Linked DNA regions of Homo sapiens: regions 1, 2 and 4 are each linked to region 3. The links are contacts of gene promoters, found by promoter capture Hi-C in human tissues and cell types (Jung and others, 2019). All regions are on one chromosome and are shown on one strand. The core of a region is centred on a gene start or on the middle of the fragment in contact, and the rest is flanking DNA. Distances in the headings are between cores, read along the strand shown. Region 1 overlaps UBE2O (ubiquitin conjugating enzyme E2 O). Region 2 overlaps LOC105371896 (a long non-coding RNA gene). Region 3 holds the start of JMJD6 (jumonji domain containing 6, arginine demethylase and lysine hydroxylase). Region 4 has its middle 42 kb from the start of SNHG20.

Region 1 (2,700 bases), core at 113-2,612, 290 kb after region 3:
GCTGGGACTACAGGTGCCCGCCACCACGCCCGGCTAATTTTGTGTATTTTTAGTAGAGACGGGGTTTCACCGTGTTAGCCAGGATGGTCTCGATCTCCTGACCTCGTGATCCGCCTGCCTTGGCCTCCCAAAGTGCTGGGATTACCGGAGTGAGCCACTGTGCCCTGCCACCTTTTTTTTTTTTTTTTAAAGATGGAGTCTCACTTTGTTGCCCAGGCTGGAGTACAGTGGTGGGATCTCAGCTCACTGCAACCTCTACCTCCTAGGTTCAGGCGATTCTCCTGCCTCAGCCTCCTGAGCAGCTAGGATTATGGGTGCCCACCACCATGCCAGCTAATTGTTTTGTTGTTGTTGTTTGTTTTGCATTTTTAGTAGAAATGGTTTCAACATGTTGGCCAGGCTGGTCTGGAACTGCTGACCTCAAGTGATCTGCCCACCTTGACCTCTCAAAGGCATGAGCCACTGCACCCAGCCTAGCATAATTGCCTTTTAAATGTTGAAATAAATGCTCCTCGTTGATCTTTCACTAATCCCCATTTTATACTCTGTCCTAAGAGGCGTTACCTTTTTTGAATTTTGTTCAGAAGGAGGGTGCTAGCCAGTGGCTTTTGATGTCAGGGCAAGGGGTCAAGTAGGATGCTTTGTAAAGAGAGGCAGTTTGGGAGTTGTGAGGAACCTTGGATAGCACTTTTGAGTAGAGAGGTGGTGGCTGGACACCAGAGCAGCAGCAGGCGAGGGACAGCGTGCAGGGCAGGGGCCTGGAGGCATCGTCTAGGCTCTCGGGGATTCAGGGTCCAGCAAGGAGGGAAAGTCCCAGGTGTAATAGTCTGTTCTTCAGTCTCTGACAATCCAGCACCGAAGAAAAATTGCTGGAGTCATCCTCTTATTTGCCTTAGATTTATAGCTTTATTCCTGATTGGTCTATTAAGTTATTTATATACTTAATACAAAAGTGCAAGGACATAGGAAAGGTGGGTAAAAAAAAAGTCACCCATAATTCTACCACTCGGGGATAACTTCTCTTTATTATTTCAGTGGATGGCTGTTCTAGTCTTTTATTTGTTAATTAATTAATAAATTAATTAATTTTTGAGATGGAGTTTGCTCTTGTTGCCCAGGCTGGAGTGCAATGGTGCTATCTCGGCTCACTGTAACCTCCGCCTCCCGGGTTCAAGCAATTCTCCTGCCTCAGCCTCCTGAGTAGCTGGGATTACAGGTGCACACCACCATGCCTGGCTAATGTTTTGTATTTTAGTAGAGACAGGCTTTCGCCATGTTGCCCAGGCTAGTCTCATACTCCTGAGCTCAGGTGATCCGCCCGTCTCAGCCTCCCAAAGTGCTAGGATTACAGGCGTGAGCCACCGCACGGGGCCTAACGATGATGAGAATTTGATGTGACATCTGCAGGATCCCCAGCTAGTCAGCAGCATCTAGAGGGCTAGAACTCTGGCCAGCTGACTGGGCCTTTTGCTAACTGTTTTCTGTCCCCTCTGTGCCGGGGTGTCACTGAGCTTTGCGGGACAGGCTGGTCTGTCGTGCCTTCAGCTCAGGGAATGTGGCTCCCGAGCATAGGGCTGGACTGAGAGGCGTTAGGTGAGCCAGAGAAGGCCTCAGACACAGGGCTTAGAGAGGGCATGTAGACCTGTGATTGCTTAGTGTCCATGACTAGAAAAGACAGAATCTTGTAGTTACTGGGGATTGCACGAGATCACCTTCGAGAGGGCTCAGCACAGCACCTGACCAGTGGTCACTGCTGCTGGGGGATAATTTAGCTCTGCGTCTGTTTCCCTGTGTTTCCAAGCCCATGCAGTAAACGGGGGGAATATTGCGAATTAGCTTGTCTGCCTCGTAAGGCCAACCTGAAAACTAAATCTTAATCTTTGTGTGTGTGTGTGTGTGTGTGTGTGTGTGTGTGTGTGTATGTGTGTGTGTGTGTATCTGTATATTTAAACAGATAATATATGCAAATATCACAACATTCAAAAGGTTTAAACAAATATGTAGTGAAATGTTTGTCTCCCTCCTACCATTTTCACTCTCCAGGGATAGCCACTGTGACCAAACTCTATGTGTGTGAGTATACCTTTTTTATATTTTAGCTTTTTACATAAATAGTAGCTTTCTGTACAACTGCTCTGTATTTGGCAGGTCAGAGCTTTGGATTCAGACAAACCTGGATCTGGATCCTGACCTTCCCGTTTGCTTCGTGGTGACTCACAGCTGGCTTGGTGCATCTCATCCCTTAGTGCCTTGCCAGGTGCGTCACCTCCCCTTTCCTCTCCTCATTGTTGTCCTTTGTGCCAGGCTGTTGGGCTAAATCCAGCCTAGTGTGCCACTGCAGGGAGAGCCCAGCTCTGCCATTTTGGGGATAGTGTAGGAATCCATGATCCCTGGATGGGCGCGCCCGAGCCCCTCTATTGGGGCAGGGTTTTCTCAGTAGCCAGAGGTACCACCGATGGAGGTGGAAGGACTATAACAGAGGTATTTGACCCAGAAGACCTTTGTGAGGGCAGAGACAAAGTTGTTTTTTTGTTTGTTTTTTTAAAAAAAAAAAAAAAAAAAAGCTTAAGTGAAAAAGCATTTCCAGAACATCGCAGGTGCCTTTCGACTTCACTCCTGACCTTTGCCATGTCGGAATTGCTTAGTTTGTGTTAGCAGTGTGGGACCACTCTGAGCTCCTTGCAGAAGCCAAGGCAAGAC
Region 2 (2,700 bases), core at 123-2,622, 480 kb after region 3:
GCAGAGATTGCAGTGAGCTGAGATCAGCCCATTGCACTTCCAGCCTGGGCAACAAGAGCGAGACTGTGTCTCAAGGAAAAAAAATTCCCAGAGTCACAGAGGAAATTTAAATGGACTAGGACTCAGCAGAAGGGAAAGAAATGTTAAAAGAAGCCAGAGTTTCTGATGAGATCATGCTTGAGGCTTTAGAAATTGTCAGGAACTCAGGAAGCCCGGGTATAGTGAAAAAAAAAAAAAAGTGAAAGAGAGAGAAAATCAAAAACAGAGAGCAAGAAACAAGTGCTGGGAAGAGAGGAGTTTGTTTACCATAAAGCCCCTGATTTGTTTGCCAGGATAGGTCCCCTTCTCCTTCAGAAACACAGCACCTCCAGAGTGAATGATGAATGAATGCCATTTCTGACCCCAACAGCCCAAGCCACACAAATCATTCTTTGGGCCAGGCATGAGGTGCTGTTAATAAAACACAGAGCCAGTGTTCTGCCTAAAGAGGAAGGAAGTATTTACTGAACACTAGAGCACTGGGTTGTACACAACCGAATTGGGAAACCACTAGAATATGCCTCATCACGAACAACATCCGTGCCACACGCTCCCGTGCCCAACACGCCCTGGGGCCTGGGAACAGTCAGAGAAAATCTTGTGTCCTGCCTTTGGGAGCTTCCAGATCAGAGCTGACCCACTGACCACACTGTGTACAGAGTCCAGTCATCAGAAGGGATTGAGCAAGGAAACAGGGTGTCCATCCAGCCCTGAAGGCAGGCAGCTGCCTACGCACTTCATGGCAGTGTTTGCAGGAGGACAGGTTACTCATCTGCTGGAGCTCTTAGAGGGAAGCTTAAGGCCAAAGAGGACTTCCATAGACAAGAGCTTCCCCGGGCCTGTTGAGGAAATAGTCCCGATACAGGAAGGAGATTGATAATACAGAGGGAAGTGAGGAGGAAAAGGAAGAAAGATTAAACCTAGAGAGAGGCACAGTGAAGGTGGAGGTGGTGGTGTGACAATGATGGAGACGTCCCCATGCATTGCCCTTTGTCACTGGCACCACCCTGGGAGAATCACTCCGCTAGCTTGGTGGGCAGTAGGGCTGGCACCCAGGCAGGCTTTCCCCACAGAGGCTGGTGAGATGATGATCCATGGGTAAAATGTAGGACTTTGAACCTGGAAGAACCTGGGGCCAGTTCCTGCTCCCTGTGCCTACTTGAGTTCCAGTTTCCTCATCTGGGAAGTGGGAACAATAATACTTATCTCTTAGGGTTGTTTTGAAGATTAAATGAGGCTCAGGTGGGAGGATCGCTTGAGCCCAGGAGGTTGAGACTGCAGTGAACTGTGATCACACCACTGCACTCCAGCTCGGGTGACAACGCATTCCAAAGTGCTTGGACAGAGTCATTGCTCAAAAATGACTATTCTTGGCTGGGCTCGGTGGTTCACGCCTATAATCCCAGCACTTTGGGAGGCCAAGGCAGGTGGATCACCTGAGGTCAGGAGTTCAAGACCAGCCTTACCAGCATGGTGAAACCCTATCTCTACTAAAAATACAAAAATTAGCTGGGCATGGTGGCATTCACCTGTAATCCCAGCTATTCGGGAGGCTGAGGCAGGAGAATCACTTGAACCTGGGAGGCAGAGGTTGCAGTGAGTCAAGATTGCGCCATTGCACATCAGCCTGGGCTACAGAGGGAGACTCCGTCTCAAAACAACAACAACAACAACAACTAAATAGTCATTCATTTAGTGAGCACTTTCTATATGGGAAGCAATGTACCCAGCCCTTCTGGGGGATTAGAAGAAACCTAAGACCAGGGGTATGCTGGTAAACTGGCTCTGGAGAATGGGAGGAAGCTGTGATTTGCAGCATTTGATGGTTTCTGTGTTGTAAATACTCCCATTACGCTACCAACAATTTAACAACTGGCTGGCAAAATTCCTGAACTATGAGCCCTGGAGAGCTGGCCCCAACTCAGTGAACTTGAACATTCTTTCTAGTTAGCAAATGGCACTTAAGTGAGAAGTTAACAATGGCAGAAGGCCGTGCACGGTGGCTCACGCCTATAATTCCAGCACTTTGGGAGGCTGAGGCGGGAGGATCACCTGAGCCCAGGAGTTCGAGACCAACCTGGGCAACATAGTGAGACCCTATCTCTTAAAAAAAATAGCCGGGTGTGGTGGCGCACTTTAGTCCCAGCTCCTCAGGAGGCTGAGGTGGGAGGATCGCCTGAGCACAGGAGGTCGAGGCTGCTGTGGGCCACGTTCATGCCACTGTATTCCAGCCTGGTGACCGTATCTCAAAACAAAAAGCAAACCCCCCAAAACAATGGCAGACAAACTCTGACCCACAAATACACACATCCGCAAATACACACACCACACACGTCCACAGATGGCTAATCCAGACAGCAGGGGCAAGAGGGCCGATTAGGGGCCTTGCTTTCTTCTAGTGCAGTGACTTGTTGGCAGTACTTTGTTAAGAAGGAGCAGGGCTGGGCTATCTTTTTCTCTGGCCCTTTAGCAGCCACCACACGTGATAAGGGAGACATGTTTCTGGCATTTTGAGTTTCAATGAACACAGAAAAGTGATGTCTCAGGAAATCGAAACCCCTGGGCTCTGCCTTCACCTGGTATGGGAAGTGCGTGGACCTCGGTTTCATCTTGGGCAGACTCTCAAATACATATCCTGACTTGGAAATCCAGAAACTCTGA
Region 3 (2,700 bases), core at 112-2,611:
TGGGACATGCCTCACAGGCTGGTGTTAAAACCAAATGAAATACTGCAAAGTGAAAGTGCTTTGAAAAACCGAAGACAGGCAGGGCATGGTGGCTCACTCCTGCAATCCCAGCACTTAGGCAGGCGGGAGGATCACTTGAATCCGGGAGTTGGAGGTTGCAGTGAGCTGTGATCGCGCCACTGCGCTCCAGCCTGGGCGCCAGAGCGAGACAGTGTCTCAAAAAAAAGAAAAGAAAAAGAATTATTATTGAGAGTTTTGTTGTAGCTGTGAGCTTAGAGGAAGAAGCGAGGTCCAACCCAAGAAACACTTTGGGCACCAAATAAAACTGGAAACCCTGATCCCAAAACTCACACAAAAGTGAGAGATAAGGATGAATCAAGAAACCCTTGGACAAGATCAAAAGAAGCATTAGAGGTCAGTCAAGAATGTCACTTTCCTGGCAGGAAAGATTCGATGTGGAGAAAGCCGGCCCGGCGCAGTGGCTCATGCCTGTAATCCTAGCACTTTGGGAGGCCGAGGCAGGAGGATCACTTAAGCTTACAGTTCGAGACCAGCCTGACCAACATAGTGACCAGGGTCACTTCTTGGCAGGGTCTCCAAAATTCTTACTGAGAGACATTTAATGCACCGAAGGGCTTCATATCCGACGTTTTTGCTCCGGGGGTCAACCTAAAGCAGGAAGCTGCGCAGCTGAGCGTCCGCACCCCCGGTCCCTCAGGAACCCAGCCAAGTCAGCCGACATCCGCTCCTGACCTCAGGCGCCTCCTGGCGGGTGCTGCTGCACGCACCTGCGGGACGTGGACCTCCAGGACAGCCCCGTCGGCCCCCGGACCCGGCTCCTCCGAGAATCGAAAGCGCTGGGCCCGGACCCCCTGTCCTCGGAAATCGTGCTCGCCCAGTAGGGCGTCGTTGGGCCCCGGGCGGGCGGGGGACCGCGGAAGGCTCCGGGCTGCCAGACTGCGCGAGCGGGAAGCCGCGGGCCACGTGGCCGTAGCACCTGACGGCAAGAAGGGGAAAGCCCAGATCTGGTGATAACCCTGCCGCGCTGCGAGCGAAGAAAGCCCGGAGCAAGGCGAAAGAGACTCACACGCGCAGAACTGGCAACGGGCGGCTGGCGCGACCGGAAGTGATGGGCACAGCGGCAGCGCGGGAGGGGAGGGGCGGGGCGGGGCGGGGCGGTGACGCAGCCGACGTGACCTTCCCAACATGGCGGAGGCCCGCCGTATGTGAAGGAGTACCCCAGGGGAGCCAAAGCCAATGGAAAACCGCGAGAGGCGTCGGGGCGGGGAAGACGGCGGCCGCTTGCCCAACCCGAGGCTCGGGAGGTGGCTGGGGAGTGAATTTTCTGGAAGGCGACTTTAAAGGCGCCGGGACTGAGCGAAGGGCGTTTGGGTACTGCCGTCGCCGCCGCCCAGGCCGGGGAGGGGTGCGTTAGTGTCAGGAAGCGGGCTGCGCCGAGGTCGTAGCGGAACCAGCTGGCGACCCCGCAGAATGAACCACAAGAGCAAGAAGCGCATCCGCGAGGCCAAGCGGAGTGCGCGGCCGGAGCTCAAGGACTCGCTGGATTGGACCCGGCACAACTACTACGAGAGCTTCTCGCTGAGCCCGGCGGCCGTGGCGGTGAGCGGGTCGGGCGGGGGTGGCCAGGCCGGGCATCGGCACCTCCAGCCGCTACGCACCTTTCTCTGGGCCCGAGGCTGCCCTCGCCCCGAGCGCCCGGGACCTCGTAGAGGCTCACCCGCACCCCGCGGAGTTTGGGGTCCCCGAGGCGCGGATTCCGGGGCGGGTCTGCTTCCTCCCGTGCTGTGGCCGCCCGTCTGCTCTGGCGGACGACGGGAGTCCCACGCCTGTGGCGCTCTCAACTAGAAGGCCCGTCGTCCCTGACTCCTTTGGGCGGCGGGTCCCCTAGGGGACCTGGCTGTCAAGGCTCATGGGGGGTGGCTCTAGGAACGACGTGGCCTCACGCACGCGCCCTGCCCCCACCCCGGAGGAGCCAGACGAGAGTCAACTTCCTTCGGTTTGTCATTACCAGTTGGCCTTGGGGACACCCTTATCTGCCACTGGACTTTTTTTTTTTTTTTAACTGGACAGGTCTTTTTTAATTCCCTCAGGATAACGTGGAAAGGGCAGATGCTTTACAGCTGTCTGTGGAAGAATTTGTGGAGCGGTATGAAAGACCTTACAAGCCCGTGGTTTTGTTGAATGCGCAAGAGGGCTGGTCTGCGCAGGAGAAATGGACTCTGGAGCGCCTAAAAAGGAAATATCGGAACCAGAAGTTCAAGTGTGGTGAGGATAACGATGGCTACTCAGTGAAGATGAAGATGAAATACTACATCGAGTACATGGAGAGCACTCGAGATGATAGTCCCCTTTACATCTTTGACAGCAGCTATGGTGAACACCCTAAAAGAAGGAAACTTTTGGAAGACTACAAGGTGCCAAAGTTTTTCACTGATGACCTTTTCCAGTATGCTGGGGAGAAGCGCAGGCCCCCTTACAGGTAAAGTATTCTGCAGCTAAGTGGTTAAAATCCTTTTCTTTTTTTTTTTTTTTTTTTTTTGAGACAGAGCGTCACTCTTGTAGCCCAGGCTGCAGTGCCGTGGTGCGATCTCGGCTCACAGCAACCTCCATCTCCCGAGTTCAAGCGCTTCTCCTGCCTCAGCCTCCTGTAACTGGGATTACAGGCATGCGCCACCACAC
Region 4 (2,700 bases), core at 158-2,657, 320 kb before region 3:
TTTAGGGAAGTTTGAACACTGACTGGATATTTGATGCTATGGAGAAACAAAGATTAATTTCTTGAAAGTATGATAATGATGTTGTGGTTTTTTGTTTTTTAAGATTCCTTCTTATATATTTCTGTATTGTTTTATTTAGTATGAGTGTGTATTACTTTTGCAATTAAAATAAGAGAATAAGATTTTTTTTTAAAAAAAAAAACTAGCCTTTTTACAGCCTGGGCAACATAGTGAGACCTCATCTCTACAAAAAACTTTTAAAAAATTAACCAGGCATGGTGGTGCACACCTGTAGTCCAAGCTACTGGGGAGGCTGTGGCAGGAGGATGACTTGGGCCCAGGAGGTCAAGGCTGCAGTGAGCTAGGATGGTGCCACTGCACTTCAGCCTGGGTGACAGAGTGAGACCCTGTCTCAAAAATATAAAAATAAAAAACACAACTAAATTTTTATATTAAACCAGGTACCGAATGGCATCGTAGGTTTGCAAATAAATGCTGAAATATTTATGAAAAAAGAGATTTCTTCTCTTTCAGAGATACATACTGAAATATCTATGAATGATGTTGAAGATTTGCTCAACTATAATCCGATGGCAGAGAGGGACTGGTAGAATAAAACCAAATTCACCCATGGTTGATAATTGTTAAAGCTAGGTAATGAGTACATGGATTTTCATTATAGTATCCCTCTGAGCAAATATTTGAAATTTTCTATAGTAAAAAGGATTTTTAAACAAGTGATTTTCCTCAAGCCAGAATGTTGGATGGAACATCACTGAAGTCTTGAAAGCAGCAGGAAGGCCGGGCATGGCAGCTCACGCCTATAATCCCAGCCTTTTGAGAGGCCAAGGCGGATGATCACTTGAGCCCAGGAATTCGAGACCAGCCCGGGCAACACGGTGAGACCCAGTCTCTGCAAAAAAAAAAATTAGCCAGTCACAGTGGCCCATGCCTGTCAAGTCCCAGCTACTTGGGAGGCTGAGGTGGGAGAATCACTTGAGCCCAGGAAATTGAGGCTGCAGAGAGCTATGATCATGCCACTGCACTCCAGGCTGGGTGACAGAGTGAGATCCTGTTTTATTTTTTTAAAAAAGAAAGCAGCAAGACCCTCTCTTCTCCCTACGGTCCACTGCATTTGCACACCACTGATCCCTAAAACCCAGCCCCGCAGTGCTGCCCCACTATCCACGGTGCCTTCGTCGGAGGGGGATGGCATGAAAGTTTCCAGTTGCCTGGCAATGGCTGGCAGCAAATCGATCTCCTGCTCTGTAGCACAGTAGTCGAATATTGATTATCTGGGTGATTTGAGGATTCAACTCTCTGGACGAACACATTTTTTTTTGGCTGGGGAATTGATTAGGACCATGACAGGGGGTAAGCTGAGGGAAGAGGCATTGCAGAGAAGGGCTGGGATGGGGCGAGGAGACAGGTGAGGAAGGAGTGTGGCCAGGGAGGGGGTGAGGAGAAGCTGCCTGATGTCAGACAAGGCAAGAATGTTTCTGAGAACTCAGCCCTTGCCCTCCACTCTCCGAGACCTTTTAGAAGCACTTACTTTTGATCTAGCACCTCTGCAGCTGGACGGCGCCTTGGGATGGATGGATTCCTAAGGATGGGTGACTGCACAGCATTCTGAGTGTGCCAGGATGATCTCTGTTACCAGCTAGTTCGAACTTTATTTTATTTGAGATAAGGTCTCACTCTGTCGCCGAGGCTGGAGTGCAGTGGTACTACCACAGCTCACTGCAGCCTTGACATCCTGGGCTCAAGCTATCCTACCACCCTAGCCTCTCAAGTAGCTGGGAGCACAGGTGTGCACCACCATACCATGCTAATTTTTTTTTTTTTTTTTTTTTGTAGAGACGGAGTCTCACTATGTTGTCCAGGCTGATCTCGAACTCCCGGGTTCCAGCAATCCTCCCACCTCAGCCTCCTGAGTAGCTGTGGCCATGCAGGTGCCACCACTCCCAGCTATTTAAAACATTTTTTTTCTTTTCTTTTTTTTTTTTTTTAGAAATAGAGTCTAACCATGTTGCCCAGGCTGGTCTCAAACTCCTGGGCTCAAGTGATCCTCATGCCTCAGCCTCCCAAAGTGCTGGGATTACAGGTGTGAGCCACCATGCCCAGCCTGGTTACACATATTAAGGAGGCCAAGCCTCCAGCATTGGGCCTGGATTTGGCCAATTGGCTCGAACAGCTGAACTAGCTTTGCTCTATGTATAACCATATTGATAATTAATAAGGTAAGGCTGTTTGCTGGGGAGCCTGGGCAAGATAATGAATGTGGCTCCATGTAAGGGACCCCCCATTCCTGGCAAATCTACTCCAAGTTTATTTTCTTCTTGTGGGAGGATCAGTAGTGTTAATTGCTGCCGATTTAATATTCAAAAGGACAGCTAGGGAGAATGTGGGAAGAAAGGGAAGCCTGCTCCCTTGAATTAGTCAACTATTATTGCTTAACAAATAATTCCAAAACTCAATGGCATGCAAAAGTGAGCATTTATTTCTTACTCATTTGCCTGTGGGTCAATGAGGGTTTGGCTGATCTTTTCTAGGCCCAGCTGGAGTAGGCTTCATGCTGCAAGCAGGTCCAGGCCTGCTCTGTGGGATTCCATCCTCATTGTGATGTAGGACAGGCGAACCCCAACGTTGAGGCTTAGCCCAGGAGGGTTCTTGTCTTTGCCCAGGAGATAATTCAAGGGC

The links. The method cuts DNA at HindIII sites, captures the fragments that hold promoters and counts their contacts. A contact is called where the count stands out against the background at its distance.
Region 1: a fragment that was not itself captured here is called in contact with the fragment with the promoter of JMJD6 in region 3 in 1 of the 25 tissues and cell types used here (mesendoderm cells).
Region 2: a fragment that was not itself captured here is called in contact with the fragment with the promoter of JMJD6 in region 3 in 1 of the 25 tissues and cell types used here (psoas muscle).
Region 4: a contact is called between a fragment that was not itself captured here and the fragment with the promoter of JMJD6 in region 3, in 2 of the 25 tissues and cell types used here (IMR-90 fibroblasts and hippocampus).

The regions. Positions count from the first base shown.
Region 1 is chr17:76,434,638-76,437,337 of GRCh38, reverse strand. All of the region lies in intron 1 of UBE2O (ubiquitin conjugating enzyme E2 O), which reads left to right. Among named protein-coding and RNA genes, the nearest start is that of UBE2O, 17 kb to the left of the region's middle. RefSeq lists an enhancer at 110-611. The HindIII fragment of the contact is 4,739 bases long and covers 1-2,700 here.
Region 2 is chr17:76,250,221-76,252,920 of GRCh38, reverse strand. The region is part of intron 5 of LOC105371896 (a long non-coding RNA gene); the gene reads left to right. Among named protein-coding and RNA genes, the nearest start is that of RNF157, 11 kb to the right of the region's middle. RefSeq lists an enhancer at 742-811. The HindIII fragment of the contact is 5,873 bases long and covers 1-2,700 here.
Region 3 is chr17:76,725,267-76,727,966 of GRCh38, reverse strand. It overlaps JMJD6 (jumonji domain containing 6, arginine demethylase and lysine hydroxylase), which reads left to right and starts at 1,361. Exons shown (of 6, transcript NM_015167.3): 1 at 1,361-1,620; 2 at 2,112-2,500. The coding sequence starts at 1,492. METTL23 (methyltransferase 23, arginine) reads right to left here and starts at 1,128. Exons shown (of 5, transcript NM_001080510.5): 1 at 789-1,128. RefSeq lists enhancers at 1-228, 859-1,488 and silencers at 748-1,197, 1,308-1,437. The HindIII fragment of the contact is 13,681 bases long and covers 1-2,700 here.
Region 4 is chr17:77,045,793-77,048,492 of GRCh38, reverse strand. No RefSeq gene overlaps it. Among named protein-coding and RNA genes, the nearest start is that of SNHG20, 42 kb to the left of the region's middle. The HindIII fragment of the contact is 4,903 bases long and covers 1-2,700 here.